Regions from separate parts of the Homo sapiens genome. Here region 1 is linked to region 2. Evidence: promoter capture Hi-C in 16 types of primary human blood cells and fetal thymus (Javierre and others, 2016). All regions are on one chromosome and are shown on one strand. Each heading gives the region's core, a stretch centred on a gene start or on the middle of the fragment in contact. The rest is flanking DNA. Distances are from core to core; before and after follow the strand shown. Region 1 has its middle 29 kb from the start of LINC01144. Region 2 holds the start of PTCH2 (patched 2).

Region 1 (7,446 bases), core at 1,472-3,971, 430 kb before region 2:
ACAAGCATGAGCCACCATACCTGGCCTGCTTTTCTGTATATTCTATGACTTTTTTCTTACCATGGGGATTATATTTAACATCTTAATGTAATAACACTCTAATTTGATTTTGCACTAGCTTAGCCTCAATAACACACAAAAACTCTGCTCCTTTACAGCTTTTCCCCCACTCTTTTCAGTTACTGATTCCACAAAATTACATCTTTATATCCTTATGCCCCAAAACATAATCATTTTTAAATGCATTTATCTGTTAAATTATGTAGAAAACAAAATGTAGAGTTACAAACCAAAACTACAATAATACTAGCCTTTAGACTAATTATTATTATTATTTTTTAAGACGGAGTCTTGCTCGGTTGCCTAGGCTGGAGTTCAATGCTGTGATCTCTGCTCACTGCAACCTCCACCTCCCAAGTTCAAGTGATTCTCCTGCCTCAGCCTCCCAAGTAGCTGGAACTACAGGCACATGCTACCATGCCTGGCTAATTTTTTTTTAGTAGAGACAGGTTTTCACTATATTGGCCAGGCTGGTCTTGAACTCCTGACCTCAAGTGATCCACCCACCTTGGCCTCCCAAAGTGCTGGGATTACAGGCATGAGCCACCATGCCTGGCCTGGACTAATTGTTTTTTAATGTATTAGTTTCTTAAATTGTGTAGGAAACAAAAAGTTTTGGCCAGGTGCAGTCACTTACACCGGTAATCCCAGTACTTTGGGAGGCCAAGGTGGGAGAATTGCTTGAGTCCAGGAGTTTGAGACCAGCCTGGGCAACACAGTGATACCTTATCTCTACTAAAAAATAAAAAATAAAAATTAGGTGGGTATGATGGCACATACCTGTAGTCTCAGCTACTTGAAAGGCTGAGATAGGAGATTGACTTGAACCTAGGAGGTCAAGACTGCAGTGAGCTGTGATCACACTACTGTACTCCAGCCTGGACAACAGAGAGAAACCTCATCTTTAATTTAAAAAATAAAGAAAACAAAAAGTGGAGTTATGAACTATTGTTACAATAATACTAGCTTGTTATAATTGCCTACATATTTACTTTTAATGAAGTATTTATTTCTTCATATACCTTCAAGTTATTGTCTAGTGTTTCTTCATTTCACCTTGCAGGACTCCCTTAAGCATTTCTGGCAAGGCTGGTCTAGTGGTAATTAACTCCCTCAGCTTTTGTTCATCTAGGAATATCTTAATTTCTCCCTCACTTTTGAAGGACAGTTTGTTTGTTTGTTTGTTTTGAGACGTAGTTTTGCTCTTTTGCCCAGGCTGGAGTGAAGGGGCATGATCTCAGCTTGCTGTAACCTCTGCCCCCCAGGTTCAAGCAATTCTCCTGTCTCAGCCTCCCAAGTAGCTGGGATTATAGGCACCCGCTACTACAGCCAGCTAATTTTTGTATTTTTAGTAGAGATGGGGTTTCACCGTATTGGCTAGGCTGGTCTCGAACTCCTGACCTCAGGTGATCTGCCCACCTCAGCCTCCCAAAGTGTTAAGATTACAGGCATGAGCCACCATGCTTGGCTGAAGGACAGTTTTGACAGATATAGAATTATTGGTGTACAGTTCTTTTCTTTTAGCACCTTGAATATATCAGTCCACTGCCTTCTGGCCTCTGAAGTTTCTAATGAAATATGTGCTGATAACCTTATTGAGGATCCCCTGTGATGAGCTGTTTCTTGCTGTTTCAGGATTCTCATTTTGTATTTGGCTGTTGAAATTTTGATTATAATGTCTCAGTGTGGGTCTCCTTGAATGCATCTTACTAGGATATCATTGAGCTTCTTGGATGTTTACATTCATGTCTTTAATCAAATTTGGGATGTTTTTTGTCATTGTTTATTCAAATATTCTCTCCTTCTCCCTTTCTCTCTCTTCTTCTTCTGAGAATCCCACAATATGTATGCTGGTCAGCTTCATGGTGTCCCAGAGTTCCCTTAGGCTTTGTTCACTTTCCTTCAACTTTTCTTTTTTTTTCTGTTTTCCAGACTCACTAATTTTCATTGTCCCACCTTCAGTTCACTGACTCTTCTGCCTGCTTAAATCTGCCTTTGAATTCCTCTAATGAATTTTTCATTTCAGTTATTGCACTTTTAAGCTTCATAATTTACTTTTTGTAGATTAAAAAAAATCTATTTATATTACTATTTTGTTCATACATTGTTTTATTGGCTTTCTCCACATCTTCCTTTAGTTCTTTGAACATATTTAAAACTGTTGTTTTAAAGTCTTTCTTGCCAGCACAGTGGCTCATACTTGTAATTCGAGCTACTCAGGAGGCTGAAGAGGGAGAATCACTTGAGCCCAGGAGTTCAAGGCTGTAGCGCACTGTGATCACACCTGTGAAGATCCACTACAGGTGGGGTGCGGTGGATCATGCCTATAATCCTAGCACCTTGGGAGCTGAGGCAGGAGGATCACTTGAGGCCAGGAGTTTGAGACCAGCCTGGACAACATAGCAACACTCTGTCTCCGCAATAAAAATAAAAATAAAAAAATAAGGGCCACTGCACTGTGGTCTGGGTGACAGACAATGAGACCCTATCTCTAATAAAATAAAATAAAGTCTTTCTCTAGTACATCACCCATTAAGTCTTTTTCGGGGACAGTTTCTGTTGATTTATTTTTTCCTTTGGGCCATATTTTCCTGGCTTTTAAAAAATGTTTTGTGATTTTATTGTTGAAAACTGGACATTTGCATCTAATGTGGAAACTCTGGAAATCAGATTCTCCTCAGGGTTTGCTGGCATTTGTGATTGTTTTTGTTTATTTATTTATTTTTTAAATTTTATATGCAGTGTTTGTGCCAAAGATCAGCCTGAGATGAAAACTTAAGGTCTTCTCAGGTCTTTTCTGAAACTGCACCTTTTCCTAGGCATGTATACTTTTAAATTTTAATTTATATATTTTAACATACAAAAACCACTTTATATGCAATTGTTTTTTAATGTCCTAGTCTTCAGTGTCTGGCTCCCAAAAGGGGAAAAAATGAAAGAGAGAAGAAAAGGATCCTGGGCCTTTAAATCCCCAGGAAGTCACTTCAACTATAGAGGAGGGACTTGTGGCAATGGAGGGAGGTGCAACAACAATGGCCCTTTGACTCTCTGCACTTCTGTTACCAGAAGCAGTAATCAGCAATCAGAGCACAGATCCCTGATATTTGGAGAACAGAGCCATCCTGGCTCCCACAAGCTATGTGCAGGTTGCTCCAGGAACACATCATATCATTCTCCTTGTTGGTGGGAGATGGGTAGCTGCTCCTGTGGTAACAGTTGAAATTTACTGAAATTAACTACAATTTATCACCAAGTCTTCCCCTGGAAGTTGCAAGCTTTCAATAGACTCTGGATTTCCAAAACTGTTACATCAGACAGAATCTGACAGTGCAATTGTTGTCTAGGTGGGGAGATATATTCTTGGTTCTTCCTACTCTGCCAACTGCCCAGAATCATCTCCAGATTTTTGTTTAGATAGAAGTGCAGGTTCCACTCTAAGAAAACCTTGGGGATGTAGGTATCTGAGGGAGTTTGTAGGTCTTAGAGTGGAAGTTCAAGAAGATACAGAAGAATGATTGGGGACCAAAACAAAGAAGGAGGCTGGGTCAGTTGAGAGGATGTATAGAACAGGTAGAGAGTTACAAGGAGAGTTAGAAAGGTAAGGTGACACCTTTGGGTGGAATTTATCTTAAGCATTCCTTGGTGAAAGAGGTACACACAGGCCAGGTGTGGCTGAGAGTCTTCCTGTAGTGATTTGGTAACAACAGGGTACTGGACTCCTGCAGCTTCATATGTGGGTGCAATATAAAAAGAGGGGGTTAGGTGGCCCAGAGCATCTGTCCCAGGGTCACATGGTCACTCAGACCCAGGGCCCAGTTTGTGGGGGGTCCCTGCCTCCCTCTCCAGTCTTCATTGCACTCTGCTGCAGACCCAATAGCCTCCTTTTAGACCCTCCATCATGCCACGTTCTTCCCTACCATAGGAGGCACATGCTCTCTGCCTGGGATGCCCTTAGTCTTCCTTCGGATCTTGACTAAAACATCACTTCTTTGGATATACCCTAGATCCCCCACCATTCTCTCTCATCACATTGTGTATCATTCCTTCAAGAACTTATCACAGTTGTAATTTTACATTTATTTGTGTGTTCATTTGATTAAAGCCTCTCTCCTCTTTCTTGTCTGTAAGTTTCAGAGGGACCATGCCTGTTTTATATACCGGGTCTCCCAGCATTTATCCCAGTACTTACACAAAATAGTTGTGGTAGTTAAAAAATGTCCACAGGCCAGGCACAGTGGCCCACGCTTGTAATCCCAGCACTTTGGGAGGCCAAGGCAGGAGGATTGCTTGAGCCCAGGAGTTCAAGACCAGCTTAGGCAACATAGCAAGACCCTCATCTTTACCAAAAATACAAAAATTAGCCAGGTATGGTGGTACATGCTTGTAGTCCCAGCTACCCAAAAGGCTGAGTTAGGAGAATCACTTGAGCCCAGGAAGTTGAGGCAGCAGTGAGCCTCATGACACACGCTACCATGCCTGGCTAATTTTTGTATTGTGCCATACTGCACTCCAGCCCAGGCAACAGACTGAGACCCTGTCTCAAAAAAAAAAAAAAAAAAAAAGTCTACAAATGTTTTAACACTTTTTTTTTTTTTTTGAGACAGAGTCTTACACTGTCTCCCAGGGTTGGAGTGCAATGGTGCCATCTCGGCTCACTGTAGCCTCTGCCTCCTGAGTTCAGGCAATTCTCCTTTTCTCAGCTTCCCAAGTAGCTGGGATTACAGGTGCCTGCCACCATGTCTGGCTAATTGTTTTTTGTTTTTGTTTTTGTTTTTTGTATTTTTAGTAGAGATGAGGTTTCACTATGTTGGCCAGGCTGGTCTTGAACTCCTGACCTCATTATCCATCCGCCTCAGCCTCCTAAAGTGCTAAGATTACAGGCGTGAGCCACCCACCGTGCCTGGCCCAACACTTTTTTTCAAAGGCAGATGTCTATTTTTCCTCCTCGTGAATGTAAGGCCAGACTTAGTGACTTCCTTCTAACAAATAGACTGTGGTGGAAGTGACTGTGTGTGACTTCTGAGGCTGGGTTAAAGAAGATACAGCTTCCTCCCTGCATTTTTCTCACTCTTGGATCACTCATTCAGGGGAAGCCATACCATGCTGTGAGGTCACTGAGGAAAACCAGAACGCCCCTGTGGTATTCTGTCATAGCAACGCAAAATGGATTAAGACAATGACAAACCAAAAGAAAACAAACAAAAAATTGTTCATAAATATGCTAATTCATTCATTCAGCATTCATTGCAAAACTATTTTATTATTAGTCATCTATTGCTACATAACAAATTTCCCCAGAACTTAGAGGCTTAAAACAACAATAATCATTTATTCTTTCTCATAAGATATAACTTGGTATGGTGGCTCTCGCTAAGAATTAGCTAGATTCTGTGGGAGGCCTCAATTCCTCTCTAGTTGATACCTGGAGAGGAATTGAGGCCTCCCACAAACAGCCAGCAACCACTTGCTAGTGATGGGAGAAAGCTACCTTGAAAGTGGATTCTCCAGCCCCAGTCAAGCTTTCAGATAGCTGCAGTTCTGGTTGACATCTGAACTGTAACCTCACAAGGGATTCTCAGCCAGAACCACCACACCAAGTTATATCCTGTGAGAGATAATAAATGATTGTTGTTGTCTTAAGTCTCTAAGTTCTGGGATAATTTGTTATGTAGCAATGGATAACTAACCATAAAATATTTTGCAATTAATACTGAATGAACAAATCAGCATATTCATGAACAATTTTTTGTTTTCTTTTGGTTGGCATTACCTTCATGCATTTTGTGTTGTTATCCCAGAATACCACAGACTGGGTTATTTTATTTTATTTTATTTTATTTTATTTTATTTTATTTTATTTATTTTATTTTATTTTATTTTATTTGAGACAGAGTCTCACTCTGTTGCCCAGGCTGGAATACAGTGGCATGATCACAGCTCACTGCAGCCTCAACCTCCTGGGCTCAAGTGATCCTCCCACCTGAGCCTCCCGAGTAGCTGGATCCACAGGTGCATGCCACCATACCTGGCTGATTTTTGTATTTTTTGTAGAGATGGAATTTTGCCATGTTGCCCAGGCTGGTCTTAAACTCTTGGGTTCAAGCAATCTGCCAGCCTCAGCCTCCCAAAGTGCTGGGATTACAGGTGTGAGATACCATGCCCAGCCCAGACTGGGTAATTTTAAAAGAACAGAAATTTATTTCTTAAAGTTCTGGAGGCTGTGAAGTCCAACATTGAGGGTCTGCCTCTGGTGAGGGCCTTTTTGCTGCATCATCTCATGGTGAAAAGTGGAAAGGCAAGAGAGGGCGTGTGAGAGCAAGAGAACAAGAAGTGGCCAAACTCGCTTTTATAGCAACCCACTATCATGATAACTAACCTACTCCTGTGATAATGACATTAATCCATTGACGACAGCAGAGCTCTCAGAAACTAATCACCTCTTATCAGGCCCCACTTCCCAAGACTGTTGCCTTAAATTTTTTTTTTTGAGACAGAGTTTCACTCTTGTTGCCCAGGCTGGAGTGCAGTGGCACGATCTCAGCTCACTGCAAACTCTGCCTCCTGGGTTCAAGCAATTCTCCTGTCTCAGCCTCCCAATTAGCGGGGATTACAGGTGTATGCCACCATTCCTGGCTAATTTTTGAATTTTTAGTGGAGACAGGGTTTCATCATATTGGTCAGGCCGATTTCAAACTCCTGACCTCAGGTGATCCTCCCGCCTTGGCCTCCCAAAGTGCTGGGATTACAAGCATGAGCCACCGTGCCTGGCCTTAAAGATTAATTTTATAACACATGAACTTTGGGGGACACATTGAAACCATAGCAGGAATAAATCAGGAATTACATTAGTAATAATTCCAACAGGTGCCTGAAATTTTCTTTTACATTTTCTCTGTACTTTATGGACTTTCTCAACCATACAAATTGGAGTAAAAACACAAACAAGATAGCACAAATATCTAATCCTAGAAAGACTGTGTTGGTTGAGTGATTTCAATATGAGGAAAGATTAATTATACATGTACTTCCACTATCCACCGCCAAAGATTAGTTGGCATACAAGGCACAACGCTTATGGATCATGAAATCATGATGAAATTTTGGTCAAGAAAGGTTTTTTTTTTTTAAAAAAAAATCTTAAATGTAGATTTTTACCCAATCTTTAAGGCAGTAGTTGATTTACATTTTATTACATGCTTTAACCAAAAGTTTGTACTTTTTGGGTTAAAAAAGCCAAATATTTAAGGGTAATCAACCACTGCAACTGCTTTGTCTTTGTCTCTGTCAACAGTACCCTCTGAATCCTTTCAGTTTCATAGAGGATAAAGAGAATTTTCACAAGGAATCTTAATGTATTAGTCTGTTTTTATGCTGCTGATAAAGACA
Region 2 (6,994 bases), core at 4,233-6,732:
GAAGAGGAGAAAGGGGACCTCGAATGCCGAATCAGGGAGGACCCTGGGGATGTGCTGAGGAACAGGGTTCCGGGAGCTTGCCGGGTCAGACAAAACTTGACAGCTGCTACTCCAGGAATCCATCCCCCAGTTACAATTCATCCTTGCCTGCTGGCAAGAGTTCCTTGAGCCGAGAAGACTGCCACTACCCAGGATGATTGCATCAGGGGCCTTCTGCCATGGATAAATGGGGAGCTGCTGCATTGGTTCTTAGCCTCTCTCCTTTCCCCATACTTGAAGTGAGGGCCCATAAGCTCCTGTGAGCCTATAAGACTGCCAAGATTGCCCTCCAAGCTGTTCCCCAAGGCCAAAGGTCGAACTTCTTCCCAGTTCTTCACTACTTTACTATTACCATCCCACTTCCATACTCAGTGGAGAGAGGGAAATTGTGTTTAGCTGTAGCCCCAACAGGAATCTAGGGCCTGCATGGCCTAGTTGAGAAGTTGTTTCTATTTCCAGAGAATTGCAGGGGATACACTTTCTTTATCCACAGCTATCCCTACTCCTAAGGAGGTACATAAACCAGGCCTTTGTATGCAGCTTTCTAAATAGTTAAATGTGTCTGAGGAAGGGGGAGGCCCATGGAAAGGACCACCCAGACAGAAAGTCTAGAAAGCTCTGCTCTAATGAAGCTGACCCAGAGGGAGAGAGACTGGGCAGGAGAACACATTCTACTGGAAGCCAGTATGACCTGTCCTTGGCCTGAGCCATCTGCCACTACCCAGGATGATTGCATCGGGGCCTTTCTGCCATGGATAAATAGAGAGAGGCTGCATTTGTTCTTAGCCTGTCTCCTTCCCCCACACTTAAAGTGAAGGACCATTCCCTAATCTCTGGCTGCAGCCCTGGCACCAAATACTTGATAGGTACGCCAGGCGCGGTGGCTCACGCCTGTAATCCCTGCACTTTGGGAGGCCAAGGTGGGTGGATCACCTGAGGTCAGGAGTTCAAGACCAGCCTGGCCACCATGATGAAACCCCATCCCTACTAAAAATACAAAAAGTTAGCCCGACGTGGTGGCGGGCGCCTGTAATCCCAGCTATTCAGGAGGCTGAGGCAGGAGAATCGCTTGAACCCAGGAGGTGAAGGTTATAGTTAGCCAAGATGGCACCACTGCACTCCAGCCTGAGCAACAAGAGCAAAACTCCATCTCAAACAAACAAATACTTGATAGGTGCTATTGGCCTCAACCTGCCCACAGGGAAGGAGCATACATACCCAGGCTTGGCCCCTAAATATAACAGGTGGTGATGGGGCTGCCCAGGACCCCCACTTCCCTCCTCCACATCTCAGGGTCATTGACTCTGCTTGGCCTAGATAACAGAAGCAGCCAAAAGCTGGCGAGTGAGAAGCCTAGAGGAATGCCAGAGAAAGCAAGCCTGCCTTGCCTCCACCATGAATTAACTCCCACATGAACCCACCCCTGAAGCCAGACTGGTCACTTTACCCAGCACTGTGTGTATGTGAGTGTGGGCTGCCTCACTTTTCCTGGCACTGTTCCTCAGCCATATGTATTATCTCATTTAATCCTTATGTTAATGTCAGAGATTATGTGACTTCCCTGAGATCTCACAACCAGCAAATGAAAGATCCAGACCATGAGCCATTCCTTTTCCTTTTAGATTCTGTCATCCTCCCACCTCTCCCATCCAGTTCCTTTCACTTCTGGAAACATCCCTGAGTACCCCCAACTCAGTGGTTTCCCCTGTGGTCTCTGTGCTCCCCCTCAGGCTATGAACTTCTAAAAAGCAGGTACCCTGCAACACCAGAACCCAGCAAAGGAATGGACACATAAGAGATCCCAAGGCTGGGCGCGGTGGCTCATGCCTGTAATCCCAGCACTTTGGGAGGCCGAGGCGGGTGGATTGCCTGAGCTCAGAGTTCAAGACCAGCCTGGGCAAAACGGTGAAACTCTGTCTCTACTAAAATACAAAAAAATTAGCCAGGCGTGGTGTCACGCGCCTGTGGTCCCAGCTACTCGGGAGGCTGAGATGGGAGGATCACTTGAGCCTGGGCAGTAGAGGCTGCAGTGCACCAAGATCATGCCACTGCACTGCAGCCTGGGTGACAGAATGAGACCCTGTCTCATTGAAAAAATTTAAAAAAAGGAGATCCCAAGACGTTTGTTTCATGAGTCAGTAATGAGATTTAATTAGATTGCTTTTATCCTGTTATTTGGAGAATATCTCTAGTTTAGGCCCAAAACACGTACCCAGGACCAGTGGAAATGACAGTGAAACAAGCTGTTCTATCATAAAGGAGGCTGCTTGCAGAAAGAGAAGAGAAGCCTCTTTATCCCTTCCTATTCCTGGGGTCTATGGCTTTGGCTCTGGCTGAGCTTAGCTGGGCTCAGGAAACCATTTTGTTTGGGAGAAGACAGGTCATTTTGTAGCTTGGAGCAGCCAGACAGCACTAGGCCCTAGGTTGGAAAGGCTGGAAACTGTAGACCCATTTCTTCCATCCTAGTCTTTGAACTATAAGGCAAGAGGTTTCCTTAATAGACAGACTTGGCCTTGGAAGCATCCATAGAAATGGTGGACTTTGTCACAATTGTTAGCAGTGATGGGCCTATGATGAAAGCAGAGTCCCAAGGCCCAAGTGGTTACAAATCTATTTATCCATGGACCTTATGTCTTGCAGAGTCTGGTAAAAAGGAAGGAGATTAAGACTTACTTAAAGCATAGCATCGGGAGTTGTACTCCTGATGACAACCAGTGCTGAGTCCAGGCCACTCCCTGTCTTCAGCTATTGCCCCAAGAGCAAACTAGGGGCCCATACAGACTTAAGTTAGAGGCTGTTTCTATTTCAGAGACTTGCTAGGGGTACAGTTCTTTTTAACCTTAAATTTTTTATGTTATCATTATTATTGTTTTTTGAGGCAGGGTCTCACTTTGTCGCCCAGGCTGGAGTGCAATGGCACAATCACAGCTCGCTGCAGCCTCTATCAACTCTCCTGCCTCAGCCTCCCAAGTAGCTGGGACTACAGGTGTGCGCCACCACACCCAGCTAATTTTTTATTTTTTGTAGAGATGGGGTCTCACTATGTTGCCAGGGCTTGAACTCCTGGCCTCAAGCAATCCTCCCGCCTCAGCTTCCCAAAGGGCTGGGATTACAAGCATGAGCTACCATGCCACTTTATGCTCAGCAGGACACACTCTATAACAGGGAGAAGAAAGTGCTATTCAGGTAGGCTGCTTTTCATGTGCAGTTACTGTTTGGCCAACAGCATCATACATATATTAGTTCCTCCATAGGCATTTTTCTGGGTGAATGGACAAATGGAAATGGCAAACCTGTTAGGTGTTCACCCCTTCAACCTAAATGTTCCTCTTCCCCAGGACTGAGGCTCTAGAGATGATGTTAATTTGCACAAGCTTTCAAAAAATCAGTTGAGCAGTGTGTATCAAGAGCCATAAAAATGTTCATACTCTTTGACCCAAACAACCCACTTCTGGGAATCTGTCCTAAGGATATTCTCCAAATGATTGATTACAAAAACTACATAGTAACATGAAATATTTATGATGGAATGATTTTTTTTAAGTCTGGAAGAACTGACCAAGAAATTTGCCAGAGATAATAGTAGTTGTGTTAGAAAAATTAGCTTATTGTAGATTCATTTTCTCTTTCTCAAACTTTACATATTGGAATATTGATTTTACCCTACTCTGCCACTTGAGGTTTATCAATCAGGAACCCAATAGAAACAGCACACTCAGATAGGATAGTTGAAAGTTTAATAGAGGGACTATTGCCTCTATTCTTCCCAATTTCCAATCCTTTACACCCTGAATTCTGCAACTCTTAGTGACTCACTCAACAATTATTAAGCACCTATTTATTGTCTGGTGAAGAAGGCAGACTTTCAAGTACATAAGTTTTTGTGTCATAAATGCAATTATACATATATAAATTGAGTTGTTATGCAGAGCACAAAGAAGCAATTATCTGCCAGGAGAGAGACATGAATCAAGGAAGGTTTCAAAGAGGGGGTAGGCTGGGTACAGTGGCTCACGCCTATAATTCCAGCACTTTGGAAGGCCCAGGTGGGCAGATGACCTGAGCCCAGGAGTTTGAGACCAACCTGGGCAACATGGCAAAACCCTGTCTATACAAAATTACAAAAATTAGCTAGGTGTGGTGGTGCACACCTGTAGTCCCAGCCATTTGGGAGGTCGAGGTGGGAGGATCCCTTGAGACTGGGAGCTCAAGGCTGCAGTGTGCTGTGAAGGCACCACTGCACTCCAACCTGGGCAACAGAGGGAGATCCTGCCTCAAAAAAAAAAAAAAAAAGGTGGGTTTTGGGGGTGATTCAAGTTCAGTTTTTGAAGATTATCTGCCAAGACAAAAGGACCAAAACATGTACAAAGGCAGGAACGAGGGAACACTGATGTGAGGGAACTATGGGAGAGAAGGCTTTAGCTAGATCACACAGGGCCCTGTGCTCCAAGTGGGCCTTGTGCTTTGGAGCTATCAGATTTGCATGTTAGAGAAATGACTCTGGTCTCAGTGGAGAGAGTGGACTGAAGAGGGCAAGAATGGAAGCCGGGAAGAGTGAACAGAAGAAATCTTGGGCTTTGATTGGGTCGGAAAGAAAGTGTGGCCCTACCCACTTTGATGCCATCTCTAAGACCTACTGCTACCTGACCCCCGACCTCTGGAAGGAGACTGTATTCACCAAGTCTCCCTATCAGGAATTCACTGACCACCTCGTCAAGACCCACACCAGAGTCTCCGCGCAGAGGATCCAGGCTCCAGCTGTGGCTACAACATAGGGTTTTTATACAAGAAAAATAAAGTGAATTAAGCCTGAAAAAAAAAAAAAAGAAAAGAAAAAGAAATTGTGGCCCTAGGCCGGGCGCGGTGGCTCACGCTTGTCATCCCAACACTTTGGGAGGCTGAGGCGGGCGGATATCCTGAGCTCGGGAGTCTGAGACCAACCGGGGCAACATGGCGAAACCCGTTCTCTACCAAAAATACAAAAAGCCGGGCGTGGTGGTGCATGCCTGTGATCCCAGCTACTCGGGAGGCTGAGGTGGGAGGATGGCTTGAGCCTGGAAGGCGGAGCCTGCAAGCCGAGATGGAGCCACTGCACTCCAGCCTGGGTGACAGAGTGAGACCCCGTCTTAAAAAAAAAAAAAAAAGTGTATCCCTAACAGAGCCCGCAAAGGCCCTTTCTCAGCGTAAGCCTCTGGACTTACACTTGGCCGGCGCTGCGCCTCTCCGGGATCCCCCTCCCTCCTCCTCCCTGGGGCCCCGCGGGCGGGAGGGAGGCGCGGGGTGGCCCAGCCTGGGTGGTCTCCCGCCCCGCCCCCTGCGGCGCCGTTACCTAGCAGCGGGCCGGGCCGCGCGGCTAGGGTAATTTGCGGGCCCCTCAGCCAATGGGAGGGCGTCGCCCCGGCCAGCTCCCTTTTCTGGAGCTCCAGCCGCCTCCCGGGGACTGCAGTTGCCACCTCGAGCCCTGCTGTGCGTCTCGGGCCAGCAATTCCGCCTGCGCGCGGGACCCATTCCTCCTCCAGCCGCCGCGGCCCACGGCCCACGGAGCGGGTGAATCCCGGCGCCGCGCCCCGGACCCGCAGCTCCCTGCACTCCTCCCTCCCAGCCGCTTTAACACCCACACCCCACAGTCTCTCCCACGCCCGCGCCTTGGCGGCCCCACTGAATCCCTACGCGGGGCCCAGCGGTACCGGGAGACCGGGCTAGCCTATGGGAGCGCCCAGATAACGCGGGTTGGGGGCGCCCGCGCCCCCCATCCCCGCCAGCATGACTCGATCGCCGCCCCTCAGAGAGCTGCCCCCGAGTTACACACCCCCAGCTCGAACCGCAGCACCCCAGGTGAGTAGAGGGGGAGCTGGAAGAAGGAAGAGAGCGGAGCCAGGTCTGTCACTCGGGCCTCTGCAAGGTTTGTGATGTCTTGAAGTGCCGAGTGTCATTAGATGTCTGAAGGCAAGTGAGAGCCAGCACCGCAAGCAAGTTGTGCGTGTGTGTCGGTGTGTCTGTGCCGGTGTCTCCTCATCGTCTGGCCAGTGAGAATGAATGTCTGTGGGTTCACCTCTGTGTCCACCCGACGACAGGTGTGTGTACATATGTATCCTGCTCTCAGAAAATGGGCCTATGCCGGCCGGGCGCGGTGACTCACGCCTGTAATCCCAACACTGGGAGGCTGAGGCAGGCAGATTACCTGAGGTCAGGAGTTCGAGACCAGCCAGGCCAACATGGGGAAACTCTGTCTCTACTAAAAATAAAAAATTAGCAGGGCGTGGTGGCGGGCGCCTGTAGTCCCAACTACTCGGGAGGCTGAGGCAGGAGAATCTCTTGAACCTGGGAGGCGGAGGTTGCAGTCAGCCGAGATCACACCACTGCACTCCAGCCAGGGCAACAGAGCGAGACTGCGTCTCAAAAAAAAAAAAAAAAAAAAAAAGGAGAGAAAACAAAAAGAAAAGAAAGGAAAATAGGCCTATGCCTTCCTCAGGTGTGTGCTGGGGATGGTGGGTGTTACATCTTCCAAGTCTGGGCCTGTGTCTGTGTTGGTGCTCCCTGTCCCACATCCAGAAATCAAGAAGCGAGGGCTGGGCAGCAGATATACAGGGTGAGAAGGGAAGGATTTCATGCATTGTTGCAGTGATGCCTGGCTGACCCTTCTCTTTCCATCCCAGATCCTAGCTGGGAGCCTGAAGGCTCCACTCTGGCTTCGTGCTTACTTCCAGGGCCTGCTCTTCTCTCTGGGATGCGGGATCCAGAGACATTGTGGCAAAGTGCTCTTTCTGGGACTGTTGGCCTTTGGGGCCCTGGCATTAGGTCTCCGCATGGCCATTATTGAGACAAACTTGGAACAGCTCTGGGTAGAAGGTAAGTTGTGGACACTGGCCATAGCTGCTCAGGTATGGTGAGCCCAAGACAAGAACGGGGTGAGGAGCTGGCTACTGAGCTCTAGCAGGCCTGGCCCTGGGGCTGG

The links. Contacts are between HindIII fragments. The CHiCAGO score rates a contact against its expected background, and 5 or more counts as called.
Region 1: a contact is called between a fragment that was not itself captured here and the fragment with the promoter of PTCH2 in region 2, in 1 of 17 cell types (erythroblasts). The highest score is 5.5, in erythroblasts.

Annotation. Positions count from the first base shown.
Region 1 is chr1:45,270,920-45,278,365 of GRCh38, reverse strand. No RefSeq gene overlaps it. Among named protein-coding and RNA genes, the nearest start is that of LINC01144, 29 kb to the left of the region's middle. The HindIII fragment of the contact is 1,233 bases long and covers 2,105-3,337 here.
Region 2 is chr1:44,841,741-44,848,734 of GRCh38, reverse strand. It overlaps PTCH2 (patched 2), which reads left to right and starts at 5,482. Exons shown (of 22, transcript NM_003738.5): 1 at 5,482-5,874; 2 at 6,696-6,888. The coding sequence starts at 5,803. RefSeq lists a silencer at 5,267-5,536. The HindIII fragment of the contact is 9,661 bases long and covers 3,416-6,994 here.